Regions from separate parts of the Homo sapiens genome. Here region 1 is linked to region 2. The links are contacts of gene promoters, found by promoter capture Hi-C in human tissues and cell types (Jung and others, 2019). All regions are on one chromosome and are shown on one strand. Each heading gives the region's core, a stretch centred on a gene start or on the middle of the fragment in contact. The rest is flanking DNA. Distances are from core to core; before and after follow the strand shown.

Region 1 (6,325 bases), core at 3,439-5,938, 360 kb before region 2:
AAACAGTGCTGCAATAAACATGGGAGTGCAGGTATCTCTTCAATATATTGATTTCCTTTCTTTTGAGTATATACCCAGCAGTGGGATTGCTGGATCATATGGTAACTCTATTTTTAGTTTTTTGAGGAACCTCCAAACTGTTCTCCCTAATGCTTGTACTAATTTGCATCCCCATCGACAGTGTTTGAGGGTTCTCTTTTCTCTACATCCTCACCAGTGTTTGTTATTGCCTGTCTTTTGGATATAAACCATTTTAACTGGGATGAGATTGTAGGTTTTTGTTGTTGCTGTTGTTGTTGTTTGTTTGTTTGTTTGTTTTGAAACAGAGTCTTGCTCTGTTGCCCAGGCTGGAGTGCAGTGGCGCAAATTCAGCTCACTGCAACCTCCGCCTCCCAGGTTCAAGCAATTCTCCTGCCTCAGCCTCCTGAGTAGCTGGGACTACAGGCACGTGCCACCACACCCAGCTAAATTTGTATTTCTTTGGTAGAGACAGGGTTTCACCATGTTGGCCAGGATGGTCTCCATCTCTTGACCTCACGATCTGCCTGCCTTGGCCTACCAAAGTGCTGAGATTACAAGCGTGAGCCACCGCGCCCAGCCGAGATCGTGGTTTTGATTTTCATTTCTCTGATGATTGATGATGTTGCACAGTTTTTCATATACCTGTTTGCCATTTGTATGTTTTCTTTTGAGAAATGTCTATTAAAATATTTTGCCAATTTCTTTATTGGATTATTAGAATTTTTTTCCTATAGAGTTGTTTGAGCTCCTTATGTATTCTGGCTAATAATCACTTGTCAGATGGATAGTTTGCAAATATTTTCTCCCATTCTGTGGGTTGTCTCTTCACTTTGTTGATTGTTTCCTTTGCTGTGCAGAAGCTTTTTAATTTGATGTGATCCAATTTGTCCATCTTTGCTTTGGTTGCCTGTGCTTGTGGGGTATTAATCAAGAAATTTTTGCCAAGACCAATGTCCTGGAGAGTTTCCCCAATGTTTTCTTTTAGTAGTTTCATAGTTTGAGGTCTCAGATTTAAGTCTTTAATCCATTTCAATTTGATTTTTGTATGTGGTGAGAGATAGGGGTCTAGTTTTGTTCTTTATTGAAGAGACTGTCTTTTCCTCAGTGTATGTTCTAGGCCCCTTTGTCAAAAATTAGTTTGCTGTAGGTGTGTGGATTTGTTTCTGGGTTCTCTATTCTGTTCTGTTGGGCTATGTGAGTGTTTTTATGCTAATAGCATGCTATTTTGATTACAATAGCTCTGTAGTATAATTTGAAGTCAGTTAATGTGATTCCTCCAGCTTTGTCCTTTTTGCTTAGGATAGCTTTGGCATTCTGGGTCTTTTGTGGTTCCATATAAATTTTAGGACAGTTATTTCTATTTCTGTGAAGAATGTCATTGGTATTTTGATAGAGATTGCATTGAATCTGTAGATTGCTTTGGGTAGTATGGACATTTTAACAATATTGATTCTTCCAATCCATGAACATAGAGTATGCCTCCATTTTTTGGTGTCCTCGTCAATTCCTTTCATCAGTGTTTTATAGTTTACATTATAGAGATCTTTTACTTCTTTGGTTAACTCCTAGGTATTTAATTTTGTTTGAATATTGTAAATGGGATTGGTTTTTTGATTTCTTTTTCAGATTGTTCACTGTTCACACCAATTATTTCTGAAAACCAATAAATGACTTAGAGTATTAGGCTGATTTGATGTGTGCTCTGTGTTATATTAATATCATTTTGTAAGCAGTTTTTTTTTCTTTTTTTCTTTTGAGATGGAGTCTTGCTCTGTCACCCAGGCTAGAATGCAGTGGCACAATCTCGGCTTACTGCAACCTCTGCCTCCTGAGTTCCAGCGATACTCCTGCCTCAGCCTCTGGAGTAGCTGGGATTACAGGCTTGTGCCACCACGCCCAGCTAATTTTTGTATTTTTAGTAGAGACAGGGTTTCCCCATGTTGGCCAGGCCGGCCTTGAACTCCTGACCTCAAGTGATCCTCCCGCCTCGGCCTCCCAAGGTGCTGGGATTACAGGTGTAAGCCACCACACCCAGCCAGCAGCTTTATTATATAGATAAATATAGTTTGGTTCATTTGGAAAATAGAAGATAATATATTTAAAATTTTTGATTTATATAGAAACTTATATATGACTATGCATTCCTCTACCAGTTGTTAAATATGGGTATTTTGAATATTCTGTCTGGGACCATGGTTAGGTATTTTGATCTAATTCTAAGTCAGTGGAAAAGTCATTGAAGGATTTTGAGCAGAGGAATGATGCAGTCTGATTTACGCCTACTCAGGCTGACTATAAAGGATAAGGGCACAATGGAGATGAGTAATTGGGAGGCTGTACCAGGAATCCAGCCTAAAGATGTATGTGGTGCCTGTTAGGACACTAGAGAAGGGCAATGAGAAACAGATGTGTTTTGAAGGTAGAGCCAACAATGGACTGGATGTAGTTGTGAGCAAAAGAGAGGAATCAAGGATGCCATGCTGTAGTGAGTGGAGGAGACTACAAGATCACTGTGAGCAGATATTGGGGTGAAAACTCAAGATTTGGGACAAAATTTGACATGTCTATTGGAAATACAAGAGAAAATATTGAGGAGGAAGTCAACACATGAGTCTGGAATTCCAAGGAGATGTTCTGGCTGGAGATATGAATTTGGAAGTCATCAGTGTCTATGGGGAATATAAAGCCATGGACAAAGTGAAGACACCTAGGAAGTGAGGGTAGATGGCAGGTGGGAGAAGACAGCCCAGGGCTAAGTCACAGGACACCATAGCATTAGATGTCAGGGACAGCAGAAGCATCCAGCAAAGATGATGGAGAAGGAAGAGAACCAGAGGAGTGTGGTGACCGGAAGCCACATGAAGCAAGTTTCAAGAAGAAAGAAATGTCAAATGCTATTAAGAGTTTGAGTGAGTTCAGCATAGGACTCAGCAAGATACACAGCATTGACACGGTGATTTCAGGAAAGTGATAAGGATGAAAGTTTAATTGGAACAGGTTTAAGGCAGAATGGGAGGAGGGAAAGGGGACACAAGTGGTGACAACTCCCTGAAAGGGGGAGCAGAAACTTGGGCAAGAGCGGAAAGGAGCTGAAGGGAATATGAACGACTGCAGCATTTTGTATGCTAGTGGAAATCAATCGTGGGTTACGTTGGAGAGAGGCAGAATTACAGGAGTGAGCCCTTGAGTGGTGAGACGGATAGATCTGGCTCTGATGAGACCACCCCAGGGGCTGCATTATTCTTATGTGACCAGGTCACGGGAATTCAAGGAATGTGGCCACAACTCAGCTAGGCTGCATCCCTGATACCCTGATATTCAGGTGTGGCCACATTGGAGCTGGTCCCACTGCCTCCTCCTCACCCCCTGATATTGCCAACATCCCAGGACTTAGAACTCAGGACAAGTCAGCTAAAAGTTTAGCTAAAGAGGTGTGGCAATAGCTAAATGCTACCTTGAGGCAGCAGAGCAGGGTCTCTGGACTCAAGAGAGTAGATTTAAGTCCTGGCCCTCCTACTTCCCTGCTAGCTATATGGCCTGGACAAATCGCTTCAGTGAGTCTCAGTTTTCTTATCTGCAGTATGGGGGTGATAACTTTATCAAACCACCTTATGGGGCTTGAAGGCACGAATGGGATGATGGATATACAAGGGCTTTGTCAAAACTTTGTACACGGAAAAGTGAGGTATAAAGACCATAAATTGTCATTAGGCTTATTTTACCATATCATCCCCTGTTCATTCCCACAAAACAGCTTTGTGGAGGAGGCATTTCTGAAGACAAATTCCTGTGCCACTCCATTGTGGGCTGAATTTTCACTAGACTTTACGTTTTTGAAAGCTAAAGAGCAACTCTTGGCTCATTGCAAGAGCCTCCCTATTTCCTCACTGACATAAGCGTATATCACGTCAAGATCATCAGTCAAAAGGGAGGGGTAGACATATGATTATCTTCAAAGCTTTCTGGGAGCCTATTAAATGCTAATCACAAGGCACAGGGATGATCCAGAAAGCAAACATCATCCTTGCTGCTTCTCATCCACCCTCCATGTTCCTGCTAGAGAGAAGAGAGTATCCAGCACTTGCCCTCTGAATGGATCCTCCAGGCGCTCCAAGGCCTGCTGGTAGCCTGGTCTGCCCATAACTGAAACTGAAACCACTTGCAGTTTGCATAGCCCTGGGGAAGGATAAGGAGTGCGTATTTGCTAGGCACAGACTCTGTCAGGCACTGTACCAGGCCCATTACCCAAATGATCTCTTAACTGTTGTCATTAAACAGTAAAGGAAACTGAGGCTCAGGAGGACTAATCAGGTCACCCAACCAGCAAGAGGCCAAGAGGGAACTTAACTCAGTTCTGCCTGTTCCAAAGAGCCTACTTTTTCTGCTAACAGACCAAGTGCTTAATAAAGGTTTTTTTAGTGAATGAATGGATGAATGAATAAAGTACTCTGGATGCAAAATCACTTTGTCAAAGGAGCTCAACAGCCAGAAGGCACAGCCCCAATTAAACAGAAGCAAAACAACCTTCTAAGAGTGTGGCTTAAATAACTCAAGAGTTTCCCAAACTCAGGAGCGATAAGATCTCAGGCAAGTTGCAGAACCTGTTGGGGACTGGTTTATTCCATTTATAGGCTTGGGGCAAACCGGTCTTGCTCCTCCCTCCCTTCCAGGAAGGAGAGTAACAGAGCCACAGAAGTCTCATTTTAAATAAAAGTCTAGGGCTGGGCACAGTGACTCACGCCTGTAATCCCAGCACTTTGGGAGACCGAGGTGGGTGGATCACAAGGTCAGGAGTTTGAGACCAGCCTGGTCAACATGGTGAAACCCCGTCTCTAATAAAAATACAAAAATTAGCTGGGCATGTTGGTGTGTGCCTGTAGTCCCAGCTACTCAGGAGGCTGAGGCAGGAGAATCACTTGAACCTGGGAGGCGGAGGTTGCAGTGAGCCGAGATTGCGCCTCTGTACTCCAGTCTGGTGACAGAGCGAGACTCCATCTCAAACAAACAAAACAAAAAACAAACAAACAAAAAACAAGGGAGTAACCAAGAAAAGAACACATGGACCAAGATATCAGGAAGCAAGAGATCCAAAATATGGATGAACCCCCAGGATGATGGGGACTAGAAACCAGAATGACATCCACCCAGCATCCAGTCTCAACAGAATAAATGGAAGAAAGGCTGGCTCTGAGAAAGAGGTCTCTGGGAATTAGAGGAATATATGCGATGTTTGAGATAATGGAAAACATTACTGATGGAGTTGAGGCTGACTTGTTGGGGCATTAGGAAAAATTAATGGTGGGTGTGTAGAAAATCAGACAAATGAAAAAAAGGTGGCAAATGAACAACTCTAGTAAAAATGAAGAACTGAGGAAGAAAGGTGTTATGGGCATTAAGTTACTGGTTTTCTAGTGAATGACATCTGCACAATCATAATAAAGTATATCCTAACTACTGATATAACTAACACTGTTTTATAACTATATTGGGGGGATGGTGAAGAGGAAGTGGGGAGATATGGGAGATCAGAGACCTTATTCATCATTGTGGGAACTCATTCACAGTCTCAAAATGTCCATGAATATGCGAAGGAATAGGGATAACTCCAGCCCCACGACTTTAACTAACATCTATAGGACTTCCAAATTTAAGATGATGAGGGAAAAATGTTCCCACTTATTTTTTCTCTGAAAAATTACCCCAAAATAAGAAAAGTAACTAAACAGAAACACAAACTCTATCCTTGTAACAGCAGACATGGCAGTCCTGAACCTTTAAATGTGAAGCAGCTAAGTGGCTAGAGGAATGACAAAAAAGTAGACAAAGAGGAATTCAAATGTCAGCAGAAGTAGAATTTATATACAACAACATTGACCGATTTTAGGTGTACAATGATGAGTTTTGACATCTGTATACAGCAGTGCCACCAGTACCAAAAATGTAATTTTAAATTCTATACCCAATCCCGTAACTGCTAGCAACTACTGATCTGCTATCACTATAGGTTTGCCTTTTCTAGAACTTCATGTAGTGGGCGCATACAGGGAGTTGTCTTTTTTGCCTTAGTAGTGCTTTGCAATTCATCTATTTTGCTGCATGTATCAGCTCATACCTATTAATTGCTGAGTAGTATTCCACTTAGTAATTTTTCTTTATCTATTTACCAACTGATGGACATTTGGATCACTTCCAGTGGCTACTCTGAACAAAGCTGCTGTGAAAACTCAGGCACAAATCTCTGTGTAGACATGTTTTCACTACACTTGAGAAAATATTTAAGAATAGAATTTCCAAGTCATATGGT
Region 2 (6,671 bases), core at 1,892-4,391:
GGTGTAATGGGGGAAAAAAAAAAAAAAGCCGGGTTGCCTGGATTTGTTTCTCGGCTCCCTGTGTGACTAGGCGTGACCCTGGGCACGCTGTGCTCCTTCCTCACATGTAAAGTGAGGAGAATCCCAGTTAAGGATTCGCATCAGGCAGTAGGTTTGAAACCCCTCAGAGAATACCAGTCACATAAGAGGGACTCTTTTTTTCTTAGTCTTGGTAAAATGATATGATTTGGGATTTGCTTCAGAATAATCCATAGGAGGGATGGATGGGCTCATTTCACTCTTTGCTTCTGTAGATATTTAAAGTTGTCCATAAAGTTTTCTTAAAATGACGCCTGGGGTTCAACTTATGATTAGTAAATCAATATGGTTCATTTTGCTGTATTCACATTCCCATACATGCATAACCAAGCAGAGAAGCTGGGGCACCCGCGGAGAACTGCAGGCCACAGCGTCAGGCAGCGGCTCCAAAGCAGCACAAGGGGACACTTTCTGACACTGCTCAAAGTTCTCAGGTGGCATTTATAAACTGCAGAACCACCACCGAAACTCAGCCTTATTTCTAAGAGATTGTTTGTGTGTGTAATGATTATAAAATGCGACTAGCCATTTTACAGAGTGAAATCACAATACTTTAATGAAGTGCTGGGCTGGGTGTGGTAGCGAGTGCCTGTTGGTCCCAGCTACTCAGGAGGCTGAGGTGATGATGCCTTCAGCCCCAGAGGTGGAGGCTGCAGTGAGCCCTGATCACACTGCTGCACTCAAGCCTGTGTGACAGAGTTGTCAGGCCTCTGAGCCCAAGCTAAGCCGTCATAACCTGTTACCTGCACGTATACATCCAGGTGGCCTGGAGCAACTGAAGAACCACAAAAGGAGTGAAACAGCCAGTTCCTGCCTTAACTGATGACATTCCACCATTGTGATTTGTTCCTGCCCCACCCTAACTAATCAATCGACCTTGTGGCATTCCTCCCCTGGACAATGAGTCTCAGGAGCTCCCCACAGAGCACCTTGTGACCCCCTTCCCCTGCTAACAATAGATAACCACCTTTAACTGTAATTTTCCACTACCTACCCAAATCCTATAGTACTGCCCTACCCATCTCCCTTTGCTCTTTTCAGACTCAGCCCACTTGCACCCAAGTGAATAAACAGCCTTGTTGCTCACACAAAGCCTGTTTGGTGGTCTCTTCACGTGGACGCGCCTAACAAGAGACCCTGTCGCAAAACAAAAACCACCAAAAACCAAAACAAAGTGCGGTAGAATTGTGACAAGGTGAGTCTTAAGTCATGGCAGCACTTCAAAAAAAGGCAAAGTAGCTTCCTACCAGTGTGGTGTAGCAGTGAAACTGCAAGTTCTGCAGTCATAGCAGCTGGACTTGGATCTGTCTGCCCCTGACTAGGGAAGAGGCCTTGGCCATTTCCTTGATTTGTCTGAGTCTACCCAGCCATCAGTGCTCAACCCTAAAATATCTAATTGGTCAGACTGAGTGAAGAGTAAATGTTTTCTGTTCCTTCTCCTATATACTGATTAGGGGAGGCAAGCAAAATTAATAAAGGAGGAATGTTCTGTTCAGAACTATCCTTCATCCATAAGACGGATCCCTAAGACATTTTCCATCCATAAGAACTCAAGTATCGGAAACCATTCTCACCTGACCAGCCTGTCAGCCAGCGATGCTCCCCATCCACCCTGCTGGAAGGAAAACTGGAGGAAGAAAAGCCCATTATTACTACTAATGACTGTAACCGGGCATCTCAGCGAGGGCAGTTCTGATTGGCAACTTCTGTTTTCTCGGCGCTCCCTTCTTGGCTTTGATTGCTTCACTCCAGGAGGTCATTTTGGGGATTACAGGTAAGTACACCTGGCAGCACTTTAGCAGAGGGGGATTTTTCTCTATCAAAAGCTAAACAGCCTGTATTCCCAGCACTTTGGGAGGCCAAGGCGGGCGGATCACATGAGGTCTCGAGTTCGAGACCAGCCTGGTCAACATGGCGAAACCCCGTCTCTACTAAAATTACAAAAATTAGCCCGGTGTGGTGGCGCACGTCTATAATCCCAGCTACTCGGGAGGCTGAGGCAGGAGAAACGCTTGAATCCGGGAGGCGGAGCTTGCAGTGAGCCGAGATCGCGCTACTGCACTCCAGTCTGGGCGACAGAGCGAGACTCCGTCTCAAAAAAAGAAAAAAAGAAAAAAAAAAAAAAGCTAAACAGAAATCTAAGTTCAGGAAATAAAGTCAAAGGTCAGTGAGGAAATGAAGGCCACACCGCCTCACTGCTTTGCTGGTTACCGAGCTGAGGGTGAACACTTTTTCATACACATTCCCATGGAATTCGGCAGCTCTGACTGCCCCATATGCCTAAACATAATGTTACCAGTTACTGGCGTATACACAAAAGCCTGGTGAAGCAAGTCCTGTCTGAGAAGAGGACACACACAGGAATGGAATTTCTACTCCCTCCCCGAAGTAAGAACCTGCATTTAGAAGACCGTTCCCTTCATGGGAGGTGAGATGATCTTGGATGAACGGATGGTCCTTTTCTACCTAATTCCTGAAGGCGTTTTACTTCCAAGGTCAACCCCTAACGGCCCCACCTGTGCCCGCAGGGAATGGGGCGAGAGAGCTCCTGGCGCCTCTGCCCGGAGCTGGCCGCGGGGCCTCCTGGGACACAGCGCGCGGTCGCCCGCGGCCGCTAACCCGGACCCGGAGGGGAAAGGCCGCTGCCCAGGAGGGCGCTGAGGGGAAGACCGCGCATCTCGACCCGGGTGGGAGGCGGCGCGGGGCGGGCAGCGCGGCCGGGTCCCCTCGCGTCTGTGCCTGGAGCCCGGGCTCTCGCGGACGCCGTCGTGACCTCCGGGACGCCGCGGGCCCGGAAGGCGCAGCCACTGGGGGACCCGCCACTCCTCCGGTGTCTCCACGGGCGTGGCCAGGCCTCCGGCCCAGCCGTCTCGGGCGCCGAAGAGGACGGCGAGGAGCCTCGGCCTGCTCGGCAGCGACCCCGCAGGGAGGCCGGGGCGGGAGGCCGAGCGTCGGGGCGGCCGTACCTGGGTGATGGAGTCCCCGAAGAGCAACAAGCGAGGCCAGAGCAGGGCACTCCCGCAGCCCGCGGCCTCGCACAGCGCCATGGAGCAGCCGGGCGGGGCGGGGCGGGGCCGCCAGCCACGAGAGGCGCCTGCGCAGTGGCCGCCCGTGGGTTGCGGGAGCCGGGCTCGTGGGCACCCACGCAGTCACTTTGGTGACGCGCGAAGGTCGTTGCCCCTTGGAGTCCGTTTGCAAGAAGCTCGGCCTCCGCGCTTGCTCACCCACAGCAAGGCTGCCCCCAGGGAGTCCGGAGCCCGCGTCCCGCTGCGTGGTTCCCGGAAGAAAAGCGGTTGGGGGCCCTTCTAAGCCCACCCCGCGCTCCGCGGGCGCAGGTGCGTTCGGCAAAGGGCAGGAGTGTGACCTCAGGACGCGCGGCGGGAAGCACAGCTGGCTCTCGGTGGGGCGGAGGGCTGCTCCAGGCCCCCCTGGAAGAGGTCGTGGGATGCGCGCGCGGCCTCCTGCGCCCAGCGTCACTCTGGAGGGCCTGTAACACCCACGAGGACGCAGGCACTGCGGAAACCCTGGCAGTACCTCGTGGTTCTGCGAATGACAAGGGAAAGCAGCTGCACCTTCAGTGCGCGCGCAGCCGGCCGCTTTTCTTTTTCCCGCCGTGGGGTGGATGCGCAGATGCAGAACCCCGCGGACACGGAGCACTGACTAACTTCCAAGGGATTCACCTGTTAAAACGTGGTTGTAATGCAACGTTCTTACCTCAACTGTGCAATGAAGTTCGGCAGCCGAGCTAAAAACGAACGGGTGGGAAGGATGCCTTGAAATCACGGAGCTGTAGATGAGTAACAGAAGGGCCAGGGGCGCCGGCGCAGAGGCCGACCCCGCTCCCTGGGGCGGGGCGATGGGCGTAGAGCATGACTTTCTTTAGGTTGCTCGTCCCAAGCTCGCTTGGATCACCTGGGGGAGCTTTACAACTAAGATCCAACCTAGGGCCCTCATTCCAGCCGGACTAACTCACCTCCTGGTGGCAGGACTTGGGCACAGGTGCACTTGTGATGCACCCCACGTGATTCCCACGGGTAGCCCAGATTGAGAGCCCCTGCTAGAGCAAGCAAAGGTGCCTGGACTTCATCTTTATCACAAGGACTTCATTAAGGCCTTCAAGCAGCAGAGGCTTGAGGCCAGGTCTGTTCCAGGAATCAGCTATAGGGGAGGAGATGGAGGTGGTTGCAGGAATTCAGAGGGGAGAGTAGACTTGGACTCGAACAGCAGCAGTGGAGATGAAGACAGAAAAGATTCAAGTGCAACTTAGAATCCTTATTATTAACTCAAATTGGTTACCCCAGAGGAGAGGGTAACCAGCAGCGGTTGCTATCGGCAGATCTTGATGGTTTCAATGGGAGCTGCACATACATGCCTGGAAGAAGAATCCAAAATTCTAAAATAATGGGCAGTTGATCTAGTAGTTAGTTCTAGAATAATGGACAAATTAATTAGCAATTTAGCAGTATTCAGGCTGTTGAAATAAAGGCCATTTGACATTAAAAGTAAACAGGCTCCCCCAGAGAAACGAATGCATTTTATTTTAGGTAACAAAAGTAGAGTCAAGTATTTTTTCAAAGTTCATATACAGGCACAGTCTCAGTGAACTGGCGTCAGGGCCTCGTACAGTCTCTGTGCAGCCAGCTCCACCATTTCTCGGAGGGATTCATCGTCTTCACTTCCCTCTTCACATTCTACAGTCTGAAAGTGAGGCACAAACAAGACTGTTAGAATTAAGTCTATAATGATTATATAGAAGATAAATGAATACTCTTTAAAAAAACCATCATCTCATAAAAAATTAGCCAGCTGTGGTGGCGTGTGCCTGTGGTCCCAGATAAGAGTCTGAGGTGGGAGGATCACTGAGCCGGGAAGGTTGAGGCTGCAGTGAGCTGTGACTGCACCACTGCACTCCAGCCTGGGCGGCACTGCGAGACCGGGTCTCAAACTAAAAAAAAGAACAATCATCTGTGTGTGCAGAGGTCATGGTGGGACTGATTACCATGAAACAGAACGGCCGCCCTACACACTTGTGGGCGTGCAGTGCTTCCTGACAGCAGCACGGTCCTAATTAGTGATGACTTGAGGCTGGGGTGAAAGACTGGGGAAAGTCTAGTAAACTACATTTACATCAAAGCCCACAGTTTGATCTAGTAAATGATACTCCAGGGAAGTTCATCTATGCCACACAAATTACTTGGCAAGGAATGGATGTGGCTATCTACTCAACATTTGGTACTGAATTTGACTGAAACTCACTAATAATCTTCTAGTTGCTTCTTTTTTTTTTTTTTTTTGAGACAGAATCTCGCTCTGTCGCCCAGGCTGGAGTGCAGTGATGTGATCTCAGCTCACTGCAACCTCTGTCTCTTGGGTTAAGGTGATTCCTGGGTTCTCCTGCCTTAGCCTCCCAAGTAGCTGGGATTACAGGCACACCACCACGCCTGGGTAATTTTTGTATTTTTAGTAGAGATGGGGTTTCATCATGTTGGCCAGGCTGGTCTCAAACTCTTGACCTCAGATGATCCACCCACCTTGACCTCCCAAAGTGTTGGGATTACAGGCGTGAACCACCACGCCTGGCCTCTAGTTCTTTTTTTTTTTTTTTTTGGAGACAGAGTCTCGCTCTATCATCCAGGCTGGAGTGCAGTAATGTGATCTTGGCTCACTGCAACCTCTGCCTCCCTGTTTCAAGCAATTCTCCTGCCTCAGCCTCCTGAGTAGCTGGGACTACAGGCAGCTGCCGCCATTCCCGGCTAATTTTTTTTGTATTTTTTAGTAGAGATGGGGTTTAACTGTGTTGCCCGGGCTGGTTTTGAACTGTTTGGAAAATCCACTTGGATCTTGCTGGTGCAAACAGAAGAGCGGCTTCTTTAAAAAATGGAGAGTCAACTAGATGCCAAACTAGAGAAGGGATGAGGTGAACTAAGCTGTATTATGGAAGAGGACAGCAATGGAGTGGCATACACGCGAACCTTGTACTATGCAGTAACCCGGAAAAACACGGAAAACTTCAACCATAATAATATAAAAAGAACAATGTGAAAAAAATGTTGGAAACACTGGAAGCAAATGCCAATATGCAACAGTAGACTGTTGAGTGTGAGAGCACAGATTATTTATGCCTTCACTTTATTTCCCAAATGTCTTGAAACGTAGGAAAGAGCAGCTACATACCCGTGTCTCCAAGTTAAGGTTGGCAGTTTTCCCGTCCACTGTGACGCTAAGAATAGAGTCATCCTTTACACTTACACAGTCTTCTCCAAATATGTCCCTGAAAATAAGCAGAAATGCAGGATTAGTGAAAATGCCCGGCTTTATATATTTGAGGAAAAAATAAAACTGAAGATAGGTCCTAGTTCTAAAGCAGAATACTGTATTTACTTTTTTTCTTTTTTTTTTTGAGATGGAGTCTTGCTCTGTGGCCCAGGCTGGAGCGCAGTGGCACAATCTTGGCTCACTACAACCTCCGCCTCCCGGATTCAAGTGATTCTCCTGCCTCAGCCTCCCTAGTAGCTGGGATTACAGGTGTGCACCACCACAGCCAGCTAATTTTTGTATTTTTAGTAGAGTCAGGGTTTCACCATGTTGGCCAG

Evidence for each region. The method cuts DNA at HindIII sites, captures the fragments that hold promoters and counts their contacts. A contact is called where the count stands out against the background at its distance.
Region 1: a fragment that was not itself captured here is called in contact with the fragment with the promoter of IAH1 in region 2 in 1 of the 25 tissues and cell types used here (spleen).

Annotation. Positions count from the first base shown.
Region 1 is chr2:9,828,831-9,835,155 of GRCh38, reverse strand. No RefSeq gene overlaps it. Among named protein-coding and RNA genes, the nearest start is that of TAF1B, 11 kb to the left of the region's middle. RefSeq lists a silencer at 335-543 and an enhancer at 4,545-5,084. The HindIII fragment of the contact is 4,516 bases long and covers 2,431-6,325 here.
Region 2 is chr2:9,471,021-9,477,691 of GRCh38, reverse strand. IAH1 (isoamyl acetate hydrolyzing esterase 1 (putative)) reads right to left here and starts at 3,141. Exons shown (of 6, transcript NM_001039613.3): 1 at 3,045-3,141; 2 at 1,653-1,705. The coding sequence starts at 3,125. It overlaps CPSF3 (cleavage and polyadenylation specific factor 3), which reads right to left. Exons shown (of 18, transcript NM_016207.4): 17 at 6,253-6,349; 18 at 4,591-4,776. The coding sequence ends at 4,675. RefSeq lists enhancers at 1,522-2,082, 2,563-3,330 and a silencer at 2,600-3,369. The HindIII fragment of the contact is 18,322 bases long and covers 1-6,671 here.